4 separate regions of the Homo sapiens genome follow, and regions 2, 3 and 4 are each linked to region 1. The links are contacts of gene promoters, found by promoter capture Hi-C in blood cells and fetal thymus (Javierre and others, 2016). All regions are on one chromosome and are shown on one strand. The core of a region is centred on a gene start or on the middle of the fragment in contact, and the rest is flanking DNA. Distances in the headings are between cores, read along the strand shown.

Region 1 (3,372 bases), core at 301-2,800:
TGGGAGAGGGTGCCCCCAAGAAGGGAGGCTTCAGGAAAGCGAAAAGCAGTTTGGCAGCCCCAGGGCCGCGGGCCCCAGCGATGAGGGGCTGGGGGAGGCCAGGGGCGGGCCCTGGACCCGCGCCAGCCCGGTCCGCGCCGAAGGGGAGGGAAGGCAGGGCGGCCTGGGGGAGGGGAACTGGGGTGAGGGCGGGACACGGACAGCCGCCGCCTGCGGCTCCGAAGCTCGAGGTCTCCCGGGGTGCGGGGACGTGGGGCCGAAGACCCCGCTCCGCAGCCGCGGCGAGGCCTCGTCCTTCACTGTGCAGATGCGAAGCTTTCAAGGACACGTCTGCACCGGCCCGGCGGGGTGCGTGTGCGTGAGTGTGTCCGCGTGCGTGGGAGTGTGCGCGGGGGTGCTGGAGGGGCGACCCCGGGCGTACCCCCCCTGCGCCGCTCCCGGTCCCGGCCCCGCTACTTCCACCCCCGCGTTTTCCGGCCCCCGCGGCCCGGGCCCGGGCCCGGGATCCTCGCCCGCCCCCGCCCCGCCCCCACATTGCGGCGCCGCCACCGCGGCCGCCCGGGCACCCACGGCCCGCGGTGGGGACAGGGAGGAGCCGGGCACGACCACCCCTCTCCGTGCCGCCGGCACTCCGGGGGAAGGTGTGCCCCCAAGGCGGGCGCTCTCCCCGGCCCCGCCGCCCCTCCCGGCCCCGCCGGCGCCCCGCACCCCCAGCCACAGGTGGCCGGAGGAGGATCGCGGCGCGGCGCTCCCCGGCCCGGCCCCGCCATCACCCCTCGGCCCGCCCCCGGGGGCCTCCCGGGTCCCCCGCCCCGCGGGGCCGAGGAGGGCCGGGCGCCGGGGGGAGGGGCGGGGGGCCGGGTCGTGCCAGGCTGCCATTTTCTGCCGCCGCCGCGGAGCCTGCGCGGGGCCCGGCCCCCGCCCCCTCCCCCGCTCCCCCGGGCCGCCGCGGGGGCCGATCCTTCTGGGTCGGGGTCCGCGCCCTCCGGCGCCCTGGCCGCGGGCTCCAGGCGGGGCCGCGGGGCTGGGGCAGAGCCCGGAAGGCGGGGGCGGCCCGGCCGGGGCCCCTGCGGCAGCGGCGAGCCGGGCACCGCGGCGCAGGCCGGCGGTGGAGGGGCCCCCCGCGGCATTGTATAGACTTGAACTTGAGCCCGGAGCCGGGCGGGGGCGGGGAGGGGGGTCCGCGCCGGGAGCGGGCGGGACGGGAGGGGGCGCCTGCCGAGCCCGCGGGGACATAAACAAACCCTCAAATCCCCCGCGCCGCCCCGGCCAGCCCGGCCCGCCGTCCCCGCCTGCAGTCCCGGCCCCACGGGCGCCCGGCGCCGAGTTGCAGGGGTCCGGGAGCGTGCCCCGAGCCGGGCACTGCCAGCCGCGGCGCCCCCCGCCCGGCTCCCCGGCTCCCCGCCGCCTCCGGGCCGGCCTTCCGGGCCGCCAGCAGCGGCGCTCATTACCGTATGGCCGGTGGGGTCGGGCCGGCCCGGCTGCGCGCCCTGGTGCCGCGGCGCCGCGTCCCGGCTCGTCCTCTGCTCTCGCCGCCGCCGCCGCCCGCGCGCCCTCCCTCCCTCCCGGCCCGCCTGCCTGCCTCGCTCGCTCGCTCCCTCCCTCCGCTCGCTGTCGCGCTCCCTCTCTCCGCCTCCTCCGCCGGGTCCCCCCCTCCCACCCCTTCTCTCCGCCTTCCTCCTTCCCTCCCTCCGGCCGCCCGCGGGCCCAGGCCTCCGCCCGCCGCTCGCCCCCCGCGGCCGCGCTGGCCCCGGCCCCGGCGCTGCGGAGCCGGCCCGGGAGGCAGCGCCGACTGGGGGGCCCCGGGGCGCCGCGGCGGGAGCGGCCTGGGCGCGCGGCCGGTCCTAGCGCCCTCGGCGCGACTTCCCGGCCTCTGCGGCCCCGCCGGGGTCCCCGCACGCCGCTTGGCGGAGGTCTGGACCCCGCACCGCCCAGACCGGGGGCCGGGCCCCGGGCGCCCCGCCTCGGCCGCGCTCCCGGCCACTCAGAGCCCCTCGAGTCGTAGCCGAGCTCCGGGCCTCGCCGCAGCCCTCCCCACGCTGGGCGCCCCGCTACCTGGCGCTGCTTCTGCGCTGGGTCCCCGCATCCAGCACTGGCCGCAGGGACAGCGGCCCCTCCTCTCCCCGGGCCGGTGTCAAGTGCCTCCCCCCGCAGCCCGCGGAGCCCCCGGCGGCCTTCGCCCTGCAGTTCTCCCGACCTCCGCCAGAGCCCACTGCGCTCTGCCTGCCTCAGCACTGGGGCTGGGGACAGCAGCGCTGGCCCAACCGCGCCGCAACCCCCAGCCAGGTGCCGCCGCGGAGTAGAGGCCACTCTGCTCTACAGGGCCAAGGTCGGAGCGCCAGGCTCCTCCTGGCCGTCCCGCAGGCTCCAAAGCCTCTCTGAGATGAGCTGCCTTGAAGGGAGTGAGTTCCCCGTACCTTGAGGTGTCCAAGTAGAGTTGGGTGTCCTCAGTTGGGCACTGGAAGACTGAAAGATTTCATGAGGTGGGAGGTTGAATGAAATGACATTGAAGGTCTCTTCCAGCTGGAAGATTCTGTGTGTGCCTACACACCGCCCTCACCCCTTCACCGTGGGGGCTGTTCTCCTTCCCCATGGAGCGCTCAGGGCTCTAGGTTCCTGACTTGGGGCACCTCTGTCTAATTCCACCAGCACAGCCACTCACTATGTGCTCATCTCACTCCTCCAGCAGCCGCTGTAGGACTTGGGGCTGGGCACCCCCCCACCCCCGCCTCCAGCCTCCTTGCGCGCCCCAGCACCCCACCAGCCACCCGCAGCTCTGCACCCCGAATTCTACTCAGCACTTCAGCTATATCACAGTGCCCTGAGCTCCCTGACTGGCACAGGACATGGCGTGCTCCCTTCCCAGGGACCCGCCATCCTACTTGTGGGCAGGGATTGCTGGAGTTGGTGGTGGGACTCACTTCACAGTGAAGCGGATCCTACTTTTCCCTTCTCCCCATGCAGCCCAGCACCCGCCCCCCCAACGCCACCCTTTTAGCGTCACAGAACCGAGTTGCCAAGTTCTCTGGGACCGGGAGCTGACCTTTCATACAGACGGGAAGGTTTTCCTTCGGGAGGTTCTCCAATGCTTCCAGGTCCCTCCGTCTCCCCAACCCCCACCCTGAGCCTCGATATCTGAGACCAGCTTCTAGGCCATAGTTCTGGCCGTTTTCAGTGTCACCCTCACTCAAGTGGCCACCCCGCCCTACTGATGATAGGCCCTGCTGTCCATGGTCCCCACCGGCCCAGAGACTCCCAGTGCTCTGTGAGGACAGGGGCCGCGTCTGTCATCCCTGTAGCCCAGCACTTGGTGCTAGGAGATTCTCAGTAAACCTTGGTGGAATTAACATGTGACCCTCCTGGGCTGTTCGC
Region 2 (3,372 bases), core at 491-2,990, 240 kb after region 1:
TAAATTATATCTTGGCTATTTTTCTTTAAATCATTCCAAAATAATTATAGTTTTAGCAGTTGATATAGCATATATACAGTTTTTTAGAGATATGAGTTTGATAAATCAAAGAGGAAGCAGGAAGTCATGGCTAAAAATCAGTTGGGCTCAAACAAGAAACAATCATCTGGAATCTTAGGGAGGAAAAGCCTATAGCTGAAGTTGTATGATCTGATATGACTACTATAGTATCCTTTCTTTTTTTTTTTTTTTTTTTTTTTTGAGACAGAGTCTCACTCTGTCACCCAGGCTGGATGCAGTGGTGCGATCTCAACTCATTGCAGCCTCCACCTCCCAGGTTCAAGCAATTCTCCTGCCTCAGCCTCCCAAGTAGCTGGGATTGCAGGCACCCACAACCACGCCCAGCTAATTTTTGTATTTTTAGTAGAAACAGGGTTTTGCCATGTTTGCCAGGCTGGCTGGAACTCCTGATCACAAGTGATCCACCCGCTTCGGCCTCCCAAAGTGCTGGAATTACAGGTGTGAGCCACCATGCCCAGCCTACTTCTTGGTATCCTTTTTAAAGTAATAAGTCTCTGCGAGATCAGCCTGGCCAGCATAGTGAAACCCCATCTCTACTAAAAAGATAAAAATTAACCAGGTGTGGTGGCCGGCACCTGTAATCCCAGCTACTCGGGAGGCTGAGGTGACAGAATTGCTTGAACTCGGAAGGTAGAGGTTGCAGTGAGCCAGGATTGCACCACAGCACTCCAGCCTGGGCAACAGAGTGAGACTCTGTCTCAAAAAAAAAAAAAAGTAATAAGTACCCTCCCTTTTTTAAAAAAAAATTCTTCTGAAAGCCAAAACCACAAAATGAAATGACAGAATGACAGCAAATGTCAACTGTAATTTTCAATGATATTAATAGCTAAGGACATTGCAAATAATCAGTTCCTATACTTTCTATAGCATGCGGAATTGAACAATAAAAGTTCTGCTTACCATTCTCAACATGGGCAAGCCTGTGCATGAGAGGTAGCCAGACAAGGCACTGGGGAGGAGGGTCAGCCATCATTGTGTCTAAAAACATATTTAGCATTATCTTTCTCTGTAAAGAGAAGAAAAACAAACATACTTTAAGTTTTTTAGGAATCTCCAAACTCCAAGTTTAATTTAGGATTTTTCCCATCCAAACTTTAGTGAATTACACGGTAAATTTTATAGCAAAATAAAATATTTTACATTACTACAGACACTACTACATGCTGTACTTTACACTACTACTATTAGTATATTCAAATGTATTCCCATATACATTATTTTATTTTAGTCAACTGTATAAGGTAAACTAGGTTAGACATTACTATATTCACTTTACAGATAAGCAAATAAACCATTTAAAAGTTTTGTAGTGGCCTGGCCCAAATCAGACACAAACCCAAGACTGTCCTTCAAGTCACCATTTCCGCTTTCCAGTGGGGAAGAGAAGACACCCCACACCCAAGTATAAGAGCAGGGACTGTGGCTGGTTGTCTACCATATTTCCAGCTCTCCTAACAGTGCCTGGCACACAAGATGCACTTAAGTAACTATTGAAAAGATAATAATAATAATTTAAAGGGCAAACACCTAGACATCATTTAACAACTTTCTCATTGACAGAAGAGAAAACAGAAGCTTAAAGTAGTTTAAATAATTTGACAACATCATAGAGATAGTTACGATAAGGATGAGATTGGAACCTACATGTCCAAATGCCCATCACAATGCTCCTGTTATACCATCTCCCTAGCTAGACTGCATTTTTCTGTTCTATCTTTATTTCTCTTTTTAACAAATATATAGTAAGCTTCCACTGTATATGAAACACTGAAAGAGTATGTCCCACTTAGACACCAAATTAGAAAGCAGTCTAGAAAGATAAGATAGAAATAGAGTTATATGATATAGAGAGAACAAATTCTCCACAATATTTCAAATTAATGAACTTTCTTTTTATTTTCTCCAGCCCACATGACACCTTTCCAGCTCCAAAGAAAAGGAAAAAGGAGCTGAAAGTCCAGGTCACACAACTCAACAAGATAGTTCCGTGATTGTAACCTGGACATGAAAATCTCACTTCAAATTGTTCCAAAAGAAGAGCCCAGACAACAGGGCACACACTCAGGAGGTGCATGGCCGTCGGCTGCCTCCTCCATGTCCTGATCCCACCATTCAGAGGCAGGGTGGTGGCTGGGGCGAAGCCAAAAGCACACCCAGAATTTCACCTTGGTCTCTCCCAAGTAACTGTTCTCAGTCCCACCACTTTCTTAATGTGAAGAACAGGATATAAAAAATATAGGTGTTTCCCCATAAAATGTTTAAATCATTTATTTCAAGGGGGGAAAAAAGGTAGAAAAGATAAAATTGGTTAGGGCTGACCTAAAGATATTGCTGGCTGATTACAAAATAACTCTGATTTTTACCACTAAAAATATATATATTTAACACAAACCGGAAGCGAGGAGTGAAGACACTGTGATGCTTGGCCTGAAGGACGGAGGCCCCCAGGGATGCCATCAGACCAACCACCGGAACCTCCCAACAAGAGTTCCTGTCTCATAAGGCTCAAGACTAGACAGACTTATTCCTCTGCATCTTTCTAGCGACTGGGAGAATCTTGATTCCAGTATACGTAAATTGGAGGTCATCTTATTGAGAATAATATTTAAAATAAGAAACTGCTTAATGGGGAATAGAAAAGGGAGGTAGAGTAGAAGGCACAGCAGGAAAGAAGCTGTGCAATAAAAATCTGGAAAAGATGAAGAAAGCTGAGGGACAATCTCATCTCCAGAAAGCCTGCAGGCCGGCAGGAAGTAGTTAAGTAATTGGACAGTTCCTCAATTTAACTTCTAATATGGAACTACTGGGGGGCGGGAGGAGCTGAGAACTACGCAAAAGGGCTGACAGAATGATTGGCGGTATGGAGCTGTCATTCAAAGGGCCTCTACACATCATGAGCACTGATGGTGAAGCATGAGAAGTACCTACCCAAATAGGCTAAATAAAGGTTACCCTAAGTGTTTTCCATCTCAGGATCCAAGAATACTATTGTTTGAGACCTTGGTGGGATCTGGGAGGAACCAGTGAATAACATTAAAAACCATAAAGCCACCTAATATTTGAATGCAGGAACAGATATGGAAAATGCCTCTATGGACATGCAAATAACCAACAAACCAAGATAAAGTCAAAAGTGTCTATTCAAAATTATTGAGATTGGCTGGGCGTGGCAACTCACACCTGTAATCCCAGCACTTTGGGAGGCCAAGGCGGGCAGATGGTTTGAGACCAGCCTGGCCAACATAGTGAAACCCCATCTCTACTAAAAATACAAAAATGATCTGGGTGTGG
Region 3 (3,372 bases), core at 443-2,942, 160 kb after region 1:
GACAGAGCAAGACCCTGTCTCTAAACAAAACAACCAACCAAGCAAAACTATTAGAGTTAATAGACAAGTTCAGCAAAGCTGCAGGACACAAGATCAATATTACAAAATTCAATTGTATTTCTAGATATTAACAGTGATCTGAAAATGAAATTAAGAAAAGAGGCCGGGCACAGTGGCTCACGCCTGTAATCCTAGCACTTTGGGAGGCTGAGGTGGGCGGATCACGAGGTCAGGAGATCGAGACCATCCTGGCTAACACGGTGAAACCCCATCTCTACTAAAAACAATACAAAAAATTAGCTGGGCGTGGTGGCGGGCACCTGTAGTCCCAGCTACTGGGGAGGCTGAGGCAGGAGAATGACGTGAACCCTGGAGGTGGAGCTTGCAGTGAGCTGAGATGGCACCACTGAGCTCCAGCCTGGGCGACACAGCAAGACTCTGTCTCAAAAAAAAGAAAAAAAAAAACAGTTTTATTTACAATAGCATAAAAAATATGTAGAAATAAATTTAGCCTGGCTGGGCGCAGTGGCTCACGCCTGTAATCCCAGCACTCTGGGAGGCCGAAGTGGGCAGATCACCTGAGGTTGGGAATTCGAGACCAGTCTGGCCAACATGGTGAAACCCTGTCTCTACTAAAAATACAAAAATTAGCTGGGAGCAGTGGCACATGCCTGTAATCCTAGCTACCTGGGAGGCTGAAGCACAAGAATTGCTTGAACCCGGCAGGCAGAGTTTGCATTGAGCCAAGATCGCACCACTACACTCTAGCCTGGGTGACAGAGAGAAAGGAAGGACGGACGGATGGACAGATGGAAGGAAGGAAAGAAAGAAGGAAAGAAAGAAAGAAGGGAAGAAAGAAAGAAGGAAGGAAGGAAGGAGGAAGGAAGGAGGGAGGGAGAGAAGGAAAGAAAGAAGGAAAGAAGGAAGGAAGGAAAGAAAGAAAAGAAAGAAGGAAAGAAAGAAGGAAAGAGAGAAGGAAAGAAAGGAAGGAAGGAAGGAAGGAAAGAAGGAAAGACAAGAAAGAAGGAAAGAAGGAAAGGCAAGAAAGAAGGAAAGAAGGAAAGGCAAGAAAGAAGGCAAGGCAGAAAGAAAGAAAGAAAGAAAGAAAAGAAAAGAAAGAGAAAGAAGGAAAGGAAGGAAGGAAAAGATGGAAGGAAGGAAGGAAGAAAGGAAGGAAAAGAAAGAAAGAAATTTAACCAAAGTGTGAAGCTTGTATACTGAAAATTATAAAACATCATTGAAAGAAAGAACACCTAAATAAATGGAAAGATTTCACATGTTCATAGATTTCATATTGCTAAGATAGCAATATTCCCCAAATAGATCTATTGATTCAGTACAATTCCTAACAAAATCACAAAATACCTTTTTGCAAAACTTGATGAGCTGACTCTAAATGCACATGGAAACGCAACAGACATAGCCCAAAAAGCGTCTTCCAAAAGAAGAACAAATTTAGAGACACAAACTTTCCAATTTCAAACTTACTACTAACTTTCAAAGTGGGTTAGTTTGCTTCAGGTCCAAAGGTTCAGAGATATTCATAAATTGCCCATTACTCTCTCCAGTGACAAATAATTCATAATTGATATCTGAAATGATTGGCTTTGAAAAAGTTTCTAAGCCTAAATACTGTATAATGATTGACTGATAGATCATGGATCCTCTCTAAGTAACTATCCAAACTGGCATCCACGTCACTGCTATGAGCTCACTCCACACCCCACCTGTCTGCATTGGAGTACCCCAGGTGGAAGTACAGCTGACAATGACACTCTTCCAGCCTCTCCACTCAAGGCCTCCTCTGTCACGATTTCTCTCACATGTCCATACAAAGGTTGGGGACAATGATAAATGGATGCCTTCACAGGAAGCTGAAGAATGCCACTGTAGACAGAGCTGAACTTGATGACGTGTTAGAAGGAGTCATCAAACTCCTTCTAACTTGATGACGTGTTAGAAGGAGTCTAGGGTATTTTTCATTTTGAAGGTGGTAAACTTTTGCATCCAGCAGCATTTTAGTACTTTTTCATTTGTACCCACATCAACAAGATATATGTCTTGATTTATTTAGAATTCTAAAGGTTTACATGGTTGAGTTAGTTTTTAGAGATCCTTTCTTGGGAAAGATCAACTTATATTTGGGGTTTGCTTGCTCCATTAAAAAAAACATCAAAAGCTTGCTGTCACTTGTACTTCTCCTACTAAACCTTATTTCTCTCTTTCCTCCTACAACTACTGATAAAATTTAAAAGCACAAAAATTTAGAAATACAGCTTTATTTCAGTTTCATGACTCAATTTCATCCAAAGTCTTTAAATGCATCTTTGACGTCAATGTCTTCATCATCGCTAAAGGTTCTGAGTCAAAGGTTCTGAGTCAGCACACAGTTCTCCACAGGACATCATCTTTACTTCTATATCAATTATTTAGAAATAATTTCTCTGTATGCCCTCAATGGAAAGACAATGTGGTATACTACTTGGTGGTAAAAAGAATGAAATCCTGGCATTTGAAGCAACATGGATGGAACTGAAGATTATATGTTAACTGAAATAAGCCAGACACAGACAAATATCACATATTCTCAGTCATAGGTGGGAGCTAAAAATGTTGATCCCATACAGGTAGAGAGTAGAATGATGGTCACCCAGAGGCTGAGAAGGGTGTGTGAGGGTGGGGAAGGATGAAGAGAGGTTGGTTAATGGGTACAAACACAGAGTTAGATGGGAGGAACAAGTTCCAATGTTCAACAGCAGAGCAGGGGGGTGACTATAGTTAACAATAATGTATTGTATATTTCAAAATAGAAAAGAGAACTTGAAATGTTCCCAACACACAGCAATGATAAATATTCAAGGTGACGGATACCCTAAATACCGAGTTGTTTTTTTTTTAACTTTTAAGTTCATGAGTACACGTGCAGGATGTGTGGGTTTGTCATACAGGTAAACATGTTTCATGGGGGTTTGTTGTACAGATGATTTCATCACCCAGGTATTAAGCTTGGTATCCATTAGTTATTTTTCCTGATCCTCTCCTTCCTCCCACCCTCCACTCTCCAACAGACACTGGTGTGTGTTGTTTCCCTCTATGTGTCCATGTGTTCTCAGCATTCAGCTCCCAGTTATAAGTGAGAACATGAGGAAATACCCTGACTTGATCACCGCACATTCTATGCACTTAGCAAAATATCACATGTATTCCATAAAAATGTACAAATATTATGTATCAATAAGAATTGTTAAAAATTAAATTTAATGTTTTCTGCACACATAATAAGCTTGATAAAATGAGAATATGGGGAAACCTGCACCCAACAATTTGAGGAATTTTTTAAGCACAATTTTTTAGGAAAATTGTTTAGATGCT
Region 4 (3,372 bases), core at 533-3,032, 140 kb after region 1:
GCTGCTCTATCTCCGCGAGCATTCCTGTCTGGGCAGAGTAAGGCTCTGTGGCTGGCAAGACGTGCTGGGCTCCTGGCTTCCGTTAGACTCTCTGGCCACACAGGTCTGTCCACATTCAGAGGAGGGAAGAAAAGCTGAGGAGTCATTAAGGAAACAAGTAGAATACTACCTGGAAATTTATACTATTTGATTACTGGGGCCATGAAAAGCCAAGTCTATGAATTAGGTAATTAGTATCCACATGGTATATCACAATCTCATACTGAATATAAATGGAATCCCCTAAAATCCTGGGGGCTGTAATGGTAGGGTAGGAGCATTTTGTTCCTATGGAGCCGCTACTCAAGTAATTGTGCTTCTTAATCAATCGGAGCTCAACCTTCTTCTCTGGTCTGCCCTCTGGCTGCCTTTGGTCTGCTGGTCAGCCCTTGCAAAGTTTACGATAACCACCTCTAGGGTGGGCTAATTCCACCAGAAAGAGTGGCTAAACACTGACTTTAAGATGAAATCTTAATCCAGGCTATAGATTATCTGAAGCAGCTTTCAAAAATGACAGGTATCATTTTGTGACTGGCAATCACAGCTGGCTACTTACAATAAAGCCTGCAGGTGTAACACAGCAAGCCTGAGGGGTAGGCCTCTACAGAGGTGGCTATGATTATTACTGCTCCCTTCTTTTAGTTTTTTCAAGCAATAAAACACTGTCCAGAAAGCCATGCTCCTTCTAATAGCCTCTAGCAGCCACATTCAGCTGTGGTCGCCCTCATGTACTCGGGTGACTTAGCGTGACAGAACTAGTAAATGATGAGAAGAATTCAGATGGGAAATGCTACTGAATGAGATGGTATTCTTATAATTAACAGGAAAACTATGACCTGAATTCTTTGAATCGGCCACCTTATCTGCCTGGTTTTGAAACGGAAACATCTTTGATCTGGAGTCTGGGTTTGAATGCTATGGGTGTTAAACATAAAAAACTGAAGTCCAAGGACAGCAAGGGTTATCGTAATATCTAGGTAGGTGGGACAGGCTTAATTGCTTTGTATTCGTCCATAAAAATTCCTTTCCTGCTTGAGAGGGCATTGCTGGTAAATTATTCTGTCTCTTCCTCACTTATTCTCACATTCCAGTTTATTTCCTAAGTCATAAAAATAATACATTAAATTCTCACATAAACCCCAAAAGGTAGATATTATTTTTGTCCCCATTTTAGAGATAAAAAATTGAAAACAAGGCCAGGTATGGTGGCTCGTGCCCGTAATCCAGCACTTTGGGAGTCTGAGGCAGTTGGATCACTTGAGATCAGGAGTTTGAGACCAGCTTGGCCAACATGGTGAAACCCAATCTCTACTGAAAAAAAAAAATACAAAAATTAGCTAGGTATGGTGGCAGGTGCCTGTAATTCCAGCTAGTCGGGAGGCTGAGGCAGGAGAATCGCTTGAACCTGGGAGGTGGAGGTTGCAGTGAGCTAAGATTGGGCCACTGCACTCCAGCCTGGGTGACAGACAGAGACAGTGTCTCCAAATTTAAAAAAAAAAAAAAAATGAAGACAAGAACATTTCAAGGTAAGCAAAGAGCCAGATTCCAACTCAGAAAGAGTCTGGCTCAAGAGTCCATGCTCTGGTGCCCTGTACCACTCAGCTCTGTCCAGAAGCAGTGGCCTGACTCTCTTGCTGCTGGAAAGTGCCCTAGCAAGGCTAAAGGCAAGTACTCTTACCTGGTCAGGTCCTGAGTCTCCATGCGGGTAATGTGTTATCAGGCCACTCTGATTTATTAAGTCCCTAACTTCTCTCTTCAGGGTAGTCCTACACTTTACTCGTTAGCTTCCTTGTCAGGCTATTGCCCAAACTTGCTTGATGATAAGAATCAGCTGGAATAAAAATGTAGCTTCTCAAGATCCTATCTTCAGAAATTCCAGTTCACTGGGTCTGATGTTGTCCCAGAAATCTGTTTTCAACAAGTGACCCAGGTGATTCTTCTCATCAGTCAGGTTTGATAAACACTGACGTAGGAGTTTTAGCCAATGGGAACAAACATCATTGTCTTAAGCACTATGTATTATATAGTCAAAATTTCTATAGCATTTCTATAGCTGAATTAATCCAAAGCAATCGGTACATATGGCACAAAATGTATTTTTTTCCAGGAAGGACTAGGGGGTGGGCTGGAATGTCTTTGTGGTTTTCTTGTTTCTGAGTGATGACTGTTAGAAAGAATTCTTTAATGGCCATGCCCTTGAGGGAGTTTTTGCATTGCTCTGGGTCATGGAACAGCTTATACCAAATAGAAAGCCATTTTATATAGTTCTTTTAAGTCCTGCCTGAGAGAATTTTTGGAGAAGAGCAAATTAAATAAAGAGGAGAAAGAAGTACACAGTTCTCATTCCTTGAAGGCCCCTAAAGCAAACTCCTTGCATAACCAAAAGAGAGAGACTCAGGCTTTCCAACTTAAATGTTTATAAATCATACACAGAATGATTCAGGAGAAAATTTTATAAGGGATTAATTCAATTTACACAGTCTAATCAAAGAGCAAAAATGATCTTTGACAAAGAATTCAAAGGCAAAACTGTTGAAACTCACGACTACCAAAATATTGTTTAAGGTTAAAAAAACGGATCTGAAACGTGCCTAATCTGCTCTGACACTGCCACCACTGCTTGTCACAAATGAAGTTTCCACCTGAGGCACCACTGAAAGCCAAACTTCAGTTGCTATATTTGTGAGTCGGTGGGGGAAAAAAGGAAAATAAAAAGTAGAAATTAAGACTAAAAGACGGTCAAAGGAAGAGAAAGCAAACCAGTCCTTTCTGCCCTGTGGAACAACCTGCTTTTCAGGCCTCATTTCTGGCAGGGGCATCGCAAATCAGTAGCAGAGGCCAACACCCAAGTCGAAGGCACAAGACATACGTACCTCTTGGTGGGAGTGGGCACTCCAGAGGACATGTGGCTAACCATGGTGTCATTCATATTAGTCAGAGGGCGAGGAGGACTGAAAGAAAAGACATTTACCTTATATTAATAATGACCAACTAGGGGAAACAAGGGAAACGACGATAAGCATGGTAAGAGCAAAGGGACCAATCATCATTCGCGGTAAGCACAGACGGACCCATGGGGAGGGGGGGGACCCATGGGGAAGGGGAGGCCCATGGGGAGGTGGGGACCCATGGAGGGGGGGAACCCTTGGGGAGGGGGGTAGAAATCGATACTTCAAGCCTAAGTAAATTCAGCAAGAGGTTCTCCCTCACAAAGCCACAGGGCCACTGAGCTGTGGGTACCAGAGATGCAACTGATTATAAGCACACTACTGCAGGACGTAACTTTGGTGGCTTTTGCTTTGTAGTTTTAGTACATAAGAATTTAAATTCTGC

The links. Contacts are between HindIII fragments. The CHiCAGO score rates a contact against its expected background, and 5 or more counts as called.
Region 2: a fragment that was not itself captured here is called in contact with the fragment with the promoter of DNMT3A in region 1 in 4 of 17 cell types (M2 macrophages, M1 macrophages, megakaryocytes and 1 more); the score reaches 8.1 in M2 macrophages.
Region 3: a fragment that was not itself captured here is called in contact with the fragment with the promoter of DNMT3A in region 1 in 2 of 17 cell types (naive B cells and M1 macrophages); the score reaches 7.2 in naive B cells.
Region 4: a contact is called between a fragment that was not itself captured here and the fragment with the promoter of DNMT3A in region 1, in 1 of 17 cell types (M1 macrophages). The highest score is 5.2, in M1 macrophages.

What each region holds. Positions count from the first base shown.
Region 1 is chr2:25,340,375-25,343,746 of GRCh38, forward strand. DNMT3A (DNA methyltransferase 3 alpha) reads right to left here and starts at 1,551. Exons shown (of 23, transcript NM_022552.5): 1 at 1,452-1,551. RefSeq lists silencers at 274-393, 674-913, 1,014-1,183, 1,474-1,683, 1,744-2,223 and an enhancer at 2,344-2,463. The HindIII fragment of the contact is 8,821 bases long and covers 314-3,372 here.
Region 2 is chr2:25,579,740-25,583,111 of GRCh38, forward strand. DTNB (dystrobrevin beta) reads right to left here. Exons shown (of 21, transcript NM_021907.5): 7 at 982-1,087. Among named protein-coding and RNA genes, the nearest start is that of DTNB, 92 kb to the right of the region's middle. The HindIII fragment of the contact is 172 bases long and covers 1,655-1,826 here.
Region 3 is chr2:25,503,472-25,506,843 of GRCh38, forward strand. The region is part of intron 9 of DTNB (dystrobrevin beta); the gene reads right to left. Among named protein-coding and RNA genes, the nearest start is that of DTNB-AS1, 84 kb to the left of the region's middle. The HindIII fragment of the contact is 970 bases long and covers 1,208-2,177 here.
Region 4 is chr2:25,479,884-25,483,255 of GRCh38, forward strand. It overlaps DTNB (dystrobrevin beta), which reads right to left. Exons shown (of 21, transcript NM_021907.5): 10 at 2,913-2,990. Among named protein-coding and RNA genes, the nearest start is that of DTNB-AS1, 60 kb to the left of the region's middle. The HindIII fragment of the contact is 3,990 bases long and covers 1-3,372 here.